Regions from separate parts of the Homo sapiens genome. Here regions 2 and 3 are each linked to region 1. Evidence: promoter capture Hi-C in 16 types of primary human blood cells and fetal thymus (Javierre and others, 2016). All regions are on one chromosome and are shown on one strand. The core of a region is centred on a gene start or on the middle of the fragment in contact, and the rest is flanking DNA. Distances in the headings are between cores, read along the strand shown.

The links. Contacts are between HindIII fragments. The CHiCAGO score rates a contact against its expected background, and 5 or more counts as called.
Region 2: a fragment that was not itself captured here is called in contact with the fragment with the promoter of AS3MT in region 1 in 4 of 17 cell types (erythroblasts, M0 macrophages, M1 macrophages and 1 more); the score reaches 7.4 in erythroblasts.
Region 3: a fragment that was not itself captured here is called in contact with the fragment with the promoter of AS3MT in region 1 in 1 of 17 cell types (erythroblasts); the score reaches 7.6 in erythroblasts.

Annotation. Positions count from the first base shown.
Region 1 is chr10:102,868,114-102,870,784 of GRCh38, forward strand. AS3MT (arsenite methyltransferase) reads left to right here and starts at 1,357. Exons shown (of 11, transcript NM_020682.4): 1 at 1,357-1,480; 2 at 1,692-1,732; 3 at 1,971-2,098. The coding sequence starts at 1,480. It overlaps BORCS7-ASMT (BORCS7-ASMT readthrough (NMD candidate)), which reads left to right. Exons shown (of 15, transcript NR_037644.1): 6 at 1,692-1,732; 7 at 1,971-2,098. It also overlaps the pseudogene LOC124902567. The HindIII fragment of the contact is 4,429 bases long and covers 157-2,671 here.
Region 2 is chr10:103,318,016-103,320,686 of GRCh38, forward strand. The region is part of intron 8 of PCGF6 (polycomb group ring finger 6); the gene reads right to left. Among named protein-coding and RNA genes, the nearest start is that of PCGF6, 32 kb to the right of the region's middle. The HindIII fragment of the contact is 3,787 bases long and covers 1-2,671 here.
Region 3 is chr10:103,258,022-103,260,692 of GRCh38, forward strand. No RefSeq gene overlaps it. Among named protein-coding and RNA genes, the nearest start is that of RPEL1, 13 kb to the left of the region's middle. The HindIII fragment of the contact is 4,680 bases long and covers 1-2,671 here.

The DNA.
Region 1 (2,671 bases), core at 107-2,606:
CTCCCTGTTTCCTTACTGTCCTAATGAATAGAAATGATCGTTACAAGCTGGGCATGGTGGCTTGCACCTGTAGTCCCAGCTACTGGGGAGGCTGAGGAGGGAGGATGGCTTGAGGCCAGAGTTGAAGGATCCAGAGATGATTGCGCAGTGACGCTAAGCTTGGGCCACAGAGTTGAGACCCTGTCTCTAAAAATTTTTTTTTAATTTAAATTATAAAAAGAGAAATGCTTGTTACAACCACAAAGGGAAACAAGATATACACATATAATTGTGGAAGTAAAAATAAATAATTTAAAAATACTTTTGGGTGCTCGCTTCGGCAGCACATATAGTTGGAATGATAGAGAAGATTTGCATGGCCCCTGCGCAAGATGACATACAAATTCGTGAAGTGTTCCATATTTAAAAAAACAAAAAATACTTTTGGGCCTGGCACTGTGGCTCATGCCTGTAATCCAAACACTTTGGGAGGCTGAGGCGGGCGGATTGCTTGAACCCAGGAGTTGGAGACCAGCCTGGACAACATGGTGAAATCCCGTCTCTATAAAAAAATACAAAAATTAACCAGGTGTGGTGGTGCACGCCTGTAATCCAAGGTACTTGGGAGGCTGAGGCGGGAGGATCGCTTGAGCCAGGAGGTTGGGCCTGGGTAACAGAGACCGTCTCAAAAAAATTTAAAAATTAAAAAAAAAACTTTCTGCAAGATGAAGTGACAATACCTGGAAAATACATGTGACTTGACCAAAAATTACTATAGGTGAAAATAAATTTAGCAAAGTTGCTTTCCTAAATACAACCCAAAATAGACTGGGAACAGCTACATACTGTTAATGGTTCCCTCTATGTGACATTCTAGAAAAGGCAGAACTATAGGGAGGGAAAACATCTGTGGTTGCCCAGGAGCTAGGGGTGGGAAGAGGGAATTTACTACAAAGAGGCACGAAGAAACTTGTGGGCCAGAGCTATTTTGGTCTCCGTTTTGGTGATGTATATACGTTTGCCAGAGTTCACAGAACTGCACACTGAAGAAAGATGGATTTCACGGAATGTGAATTATATCTCAACAAACTTGACTTCAAAAAACAGATCGAGAAAAGATGATTCTATTCCCAAAAAGGGGGAGGGGGGAAGATCATTATATAGGTGAGTGTTCATTTAAATCAGAGTACGAGATTTATCCGTGAAAATCGCAGTGGAGCGAACAAGGGGGATGCTGATACCGACCTCCTGGTTGGAAAGCCTGTAGAGCAGCGCGGATGACAGTGGAACAGCGGGTCAGGCGGTGGGCGCCTGAGCGAGGGGCTAGAGCGGGATGGGCGGGCGGAGCAAGCCTGCCAGCCTGGGCGGGGCCTCGGCACAGGAGCTGGCTGCGGGAGCCCGCCGTCCTGAGTCGCAGGCCGAGGAGACAGTGAGTGCGCGCCCTGAGTCGCAGGCCGAGGAGACAGTGAGTGCGCGCCCTGAGTCGCAGGCCGAGGAGACAGTGAGTGCGCGCCCTGGGCGCCCCGCCCCAGCCCCCAGCCCCTTCCCTGGGCCCCCGCAAGGCGGGAACGCGAGCGCCTCCCCCGAGCTGTGTCTCGAGACCTTTGTCCTCCCCTCACCCCTCGGCCCGCTGCCTGCCCTTTACTGGCCCCCTCCCTCATGCCCGTCCCTCAGCACCCTCTCCTTTCAACTAACTTTCCCGCTCCCGACAGTGGCTGCACTTCGTGACGCTGAGATACAGAAGGACGTGCAGGTGAGAGCTGTAGGGCCTGGAATGGCCCAAGTGGAGCCTAGGCTAATGGAAGTCTGGCCTGGCCCGCACCCTGTCCCCCGGGACTCCTGGAGTCGGGGTAGGGCAGGGTCTAGGCTTCGACCTTTCCAGGGAACTGAGGTCGGCCAAGTGGAGGTGGAGGTGGTGACGGAGCCCTCGCGCTGCAGTCACAGCTCTTCTCCCTCTCTACCCCTCACTCCACTGTGGGACGCTGGGTCAGACCTACTACGGGCAGGTGCTGAAGAGATCGGCAGACCTCCAGACCAACGGCTGTGTCACCACAGCCAGGCCGGTCCCCAAGCACATCCGGGAAGCCTTGCAAAATGTACACGAAGAAGTAGCCCTAAGGTAGAGTGCCCTGTGCTGTCCCCAGGAAGACCCCAAACAGCAGTTTTCCCAAAAGATAATGATGCAGGTCACTAGGGAATTAACCCGTAGCCACCAACCCATCAGCTTGCCTTGTCTATTGTAAAAATCCTAAATCTCAGCACCCATCATCTTACTGCTCTAAGAACCTCCGATGAGTCTGGGCGCGCCAGTGAGCCTGTAGTCCCAAGTGCTTGGGAGGCTGAGGCAGAGGATCGCGTGAGCCCAGAAGTTACAGGCTGTAGTGTGCGATCCGGGATGTGAATAGCCACTGCACTCCAGCTTGGTCAACATAGCCAGATGCATCTCTAAAATAAATGCGTACTTTAAAAAAATTGCCTAAAAAAAAGAACCTCCAGCGTGAACACTCTGTAGTCCCTACCCATGCTCACAGAATACAGTCACACTCACTGGATCTGCCATTCAAGATATGCGCAGTTCAGCACCCACTAATCAACCTTGGCCCTTTTGACCCTTCCCTTCCTCACTCCATCAGCACTGCCTGCCCAGCCGGCAGTCACCAATTTGGAAGGTCTTCCCTTTTCTTTTTCCTTC
Region 2 (2,671 bases), core at 73-2,572, 450 kb after region 1:
CAAAGTGCTGGGATTACAGGCATGAGCCACCGCACCCAGCTGGGGTTGGTCAGTTTCTAAGAGTTTGATGTGTATGGTCCTAGAACACTATGTGTGCATGTGGGTTTTTCTGTTATTCATTTTTTGCTTTAAAAAAAATGGGATCAACTGGGTGCGGTGGCTCACGCCTGTAATCCCAGCACTTTGGGAGGCCGAGACGGGCAGATCACCTGAGGTCAGGAGTTCGAGACCAGCTTGGCCAACATGGCAAAACCCTGTCTCTACAAAAAATACAAAAATAAGCTGGGTGTGGTGGCAGACACCTGTAATCCCAGCTACTCAGGAGGCTGAGGCAGGAGGATCACTCAAACCTGGGAGTCAGAAGTTGTAGTGAACCGAGATCGCGCCACTGCACTCTAGCCTGGGTAACAGAGGGAGACTCCATCTCAAAAAAAAAAAAAGAAAAAAGTGCGGGTGCGGTGGCGCACACCTGTAATCCTAGCACTTTGGGAGGCTGAGGCAGGCGGATCACAAGGTCAGCAGTTCAAGACCAGCCTGGCCAAGATGGTAAAACCCTGTCTCTACCAAAAATACAAAAAAATTAGCCGGGCATGGTGGCGGTCGCCTGTAATCCCAGCTACTCAGGAGGCTGAGGCAGAGAATGGCTTGAACCTGGGAGGCAGAGGCTGCAGTGAGCTGAGATGGCACCACTGCACTCCAGCCTGGGCGACAGAGCGAGACTCTGTCTGAAAAAAAAAAAGAAAAAAGAAAAAAAAAGTTGGTTTTGTTGGCACTCGCTGTCTAACAACTACCAAATTGCAGTTAGAAAACTTTTCACATTAGTGTAGGAAACTTTTTGCAGGCCTAGTTCCTCGATAGCCAAAGGCCAGCTTTGTAAGCAGGCCCTTCTAACGACAGCAGCCTCAAGGCTGATACGTTAACTCTTTTGTGCATAATATCTTACCCTCTGGAGTATCAAGAAGAGATAACAAAAATATTTTTGAATCTCAGAGCAGAAATCAGACCATGAAAGTAGTCTTATTAAAAGGAGAAAAAGTCCTCATCTTTTTAAAAGCAAGATCATGCTAGAGCTTCCAAGTTAAGATTTTTCAATCAGTGTGCTTTGATAAGCCACACTGGCTCATTCCTTTGATCATACATACTCTTCTTTTCGAGATGGAGTCTCACTCTGCCGCCCAGGCTGGAATGCAGTGGTGGGATCTCGGCTCACTGCCACCTCCGCCTCCTGGGTTCAAGCGATTCTCCTGCCTCAGCCTCCTGAGTAGCTGAGACTACAGGCGTACCACCATGCCCAGCTAATTTTTTTTTTGTATTTTTAGTAGAGACGGGGTTTCACCATGTTGGCCAGGATGGTCTCGATCTCTTGACCTTGTGATGTGCCCGCCTCGGCCTCCCAAAGTGCTGGGATTACAAGCGTGAGCCACCGGACCTGGCCATACATACTCTTCTTTGCTACTAAGTTCTTTTTTTCTGTGTCTGGCAAATTCCTATTTGTTCTTCAAACCCATTCCTGAGTTAAATCATTCACTTTTGTGTTATCTCCACTGTTGCATTCATTACATCCTATTGTTAGTTAGTTGTTTACTTATATATCTTTCCTACAAAATTCTGAGTCCCCTGATGGCATGAATTTTGTCTCATCTTTGTACTCCTAAGGTCAAATACATAGACCCTCAATTTAGTAACAATATATAATAAATGGTATGGAAACATCATATATTAGTCCTTAAAAAATTATTTGGAAACTAAATTTAATAGAAGGCTTAATATCATACACCAAATAAGTAATAATAATAACCTAACTTTTTTGAGATGGAGTCTTGCTCTGTCGCCAGGCTGTAGTGCAGTGGTGCGATCTCGGCTCACCGCAACCTCCACCTCCTGGATTCATGTGATTCTCCTGCCTCATCTTCCCGAGTAGCTGGGACTATACAGGTGCATACCACCATGCCCAGCTAATTTTTGTATTTTTAGTAGAGATGGGGTTTCACCATGTGGGCCAGGATGGTCTCCATCTCTTGACCTCGTGATCCGCCCGCCTCAGCCTCCCAAAATGCTGAGATTACAGGTATGAGCCACCATGCCTGGCCAGCCTAACTTTTAAGATGGAATTAGTTATGGCAGGATTAACAAAATCAAATATCACATCTTATAGAAGAATTTTTAGTGATCAATGTGAGGTGTATGTTCTAAATTTCATCTCATAAAAGCAAAATAAGGTCTGAATATCAAACAAAGCAAAATACAATAAGACATCAAAGAGTAAATACCACTAAATCAACCACAGTAACCCTGAGACACTGGAGTCTCTATGAGAAAGAAACATATTTGGATAATTATTGATCTCTAAATTTTAAATGAACTTAAATCTTTCTTAAGAACACATGATGGCCGGGCGCGGTGGCTCACACTTGTAATCCCAGCACTTTGGGAGGCCGAGGTGGGCAGATTGCCTGAGGCTGGGAGTTCAAGACCAGCCTGGCCAACATGGAGAAACTCTGTCTACTAAAAAAACTAGAAAATTAGCCAGGCATGGTGGCGCATGCCTGTAATCCCAGCTACTCAGGAGGCTGAGGCAGGATAATCGCTTGAACCCAGGAGGCGGAGGTTGCGGTGAGCCGACATCATCGCACCATTGCACTCCATCCTGGGCAAAAACAGTGAAACTTTG
Region 3 (2,671 bases), core at 77-2,576, 390 kb after region 1:
TTCTTTCCTTCCCACTTTCCTTCTTTTTTTCTGGTCCTACCTTTTTTCTCCTCTGTCTGTGTTTTGGGCCCACCAGGGGCCCCCTATAGCACTACAAGTGAAACCAGTGGGGTCTAAGTCATAACACTTCTTATAAAGAAGGATTGCACCAGGACCAGCCCACATAGCCAAATTCCTTTTTCTGTTGTCCCCAGAAAGCCACGTTAAGGACTCCCTTGCTGTTCTAAGCAGACTGCTTCTTTCACACATTTCCTCCCACCACCCAATGAAGGGCAGGGGCTGTGCTTTACATATTACATCTTTGTAACCCCCTCCCCTCCCTTACTGCACAAGGCTTTCCAAATAGTCTTTAGATGTCAACCTTGGATGCAGATTTTAACACACACATATTCTGCATTTTTTTTTTTTTTTTGAGACGGAGTTTCGGTCTTGTTGCCCAGGCTGGAGTGCAATGGCGTGATCTCGGCTCACTGCAACCTCTGCCTCCTGGGTTCAAGTGATTCTCCTGCCTCAGCCTCCCAAGTAGCCGGGATTACAGGCATGTGCCACCACGCCTGGCTAATTCTGTTTTTTTTTTTTAGTAGAGACAGGGTTTCACCATGTTGGCCAGGCTGGTCTCAAACTCCCGACCTCAGGTGATCTGCCTGCCTCGGCCTCCCAAAGTGCTGGGATTACAGGCATGAGCCACCATGCCTGGCCCATATTCTGCATTTTAATACACATTCTACATGTTGCCAGTAGATATTTGATATGGCTTGGCTCTGCCCCCACCCAAATCTCATCTTGAATTCCCACATGTTATGGGAGGAACATGGTGGGAGGTGATTGAATCATGGGGGTGGGTCTTTCTTGTGCTGTTCTGATGATAATGAGTAAGTCTCACAAGATCTGATGGTTTTAAAAAATGGGAGTTTCCCTGAACAAGCTCTCCACTCTTGTCTGCTGCCATGTGAGACATGCCTTTTACCTTCCGCCATGATTGTGAGGCCTCCCCACCCATGTGAAACTGTAAGTCCAATAAACCTCTTTCTTTAGTAAATTGTCCAGTCTCGGGTATGTCTTTATCAGCAGTGTGAAAATGGACTAATACAGTAAATTGGTACCGAGAGTGGGGTGCTACTGAAAAGATACCCGAAAATGTGGAAGCAACTTTGGAACTGGGTAACAGGCAGAGGTTGGAATAATTTGGAGGGCTCAGAAGAAGACAGGAAAATGTGGGAAAGTTTGGAACTCCCTAGAGACTTGTTGAATGGCTTTGACCAATATGCTGATAATGATATGGACAATGAAATCCAGGCTGAGATGGTCTCAGATGGAGATGAGGAAGTTATTGGGAACTAGAGCAAAGGTGACTCTTGTTATGTTTTAGCAAAGAGACTGGTGGCATTTTGCCCCTGCCCTGGAGATTTGTGGAACTTTGAACTTGAGAAAGGTGATTTAGGGTTTCTGGCAGAAGAAATTTCTAAGCAGCAAAGCATTCAAGAGGTGACTTGGGTGTTGTTAAAAGCATTCAGTTTTAAAAGGGAAACAGAGCATAAAAGTTTGCAAAATTTGTAGTCTGACAAGCAATAAAGAAGAAAAACCCATTTTCTGAGGAGCAATTCAAGCCAGCTGCAGAAATTTGCTTAAGTAATAAGGAGCCTAATATTAATCTCTGACAGTGGGAAAAATGTCTCCAGGGCAGGTCAGAGGTCCTCACAGCAGACCCCCCACCCCCAATCACAGGCCTGGAGGTTTAGGAGAAAAAAAATAGTTTAGTGGGCCAGGCCCAGGGTCCCTCTGATGTGTGCAGTCTAGGGACTTTGTGCCCTGCAACCCAGCTGCTGCAGCTGTGACTAAAAGGGGCCAAGTTGCAGCTCAGGTTGTTGCTTTAGAGGGTGGAAGCCCCAAGCCCTGGCAGCTTCTACGTGGTGTTGAGCCTGCAGGTGAACAGAAGTCAAGAATTGAGGTTTGGGAACCTCTGCCTAGATTTCAGAAAATGTATGGAAATGTCTGAATGCCCAGGCAGAAGTTTGCTGCAGGGGCGGGGCCCTCATGGAGAACCTCTTCTAGGACAGTGCAGAAGGGAAATGTGGGGTCCAAGCCCCCATGTAGAGTCCCTGCTGGAGCACCACCTAGTGGAGCTGTGAGAAGAGGGCCACCATCCTCCAGACTCCAGAATAGATCAACCGACAGCTTGCACTTTGCACCTGGAAAAATCGGACATTCAACATCAGCCTGTGAAAGCAGCCAAGAGGGCGGATATACCCTGCAAAACCACAGAGGCAGAGCTTCCCAAAGCCATGGGAGCCTACCTCTCGCATCAGCATGTCCTGGAAGTGAGTCACAGAGTCAAAGGAGATCATTTTGGAGCTTTAAGATATGACTGGGGGCCGGGCGTGGTAGATCACACCTGTAATCCCAGCACTTTGGGAGGCTGAGGCAGGTGGATCATGAGGTCAGGAGATCAAGACCACCCTGGCTAACACAGTGAAACCCCATCTCTACTAAAAATACAAAAAATTAGCCGGGCGTGGTGGTGGGTGCCTGTAGTCCCAGCTACTCTGGAGGCTGAGGCAGGAGAATAGTGTGAACCCAGGAGGCGGAGCTTGCAGCGAGCCGAGATCCTGCCACTGCACTCCAGCCTGGGCGACAGACCGAGACTCCATCACACACACACACACACACAAAA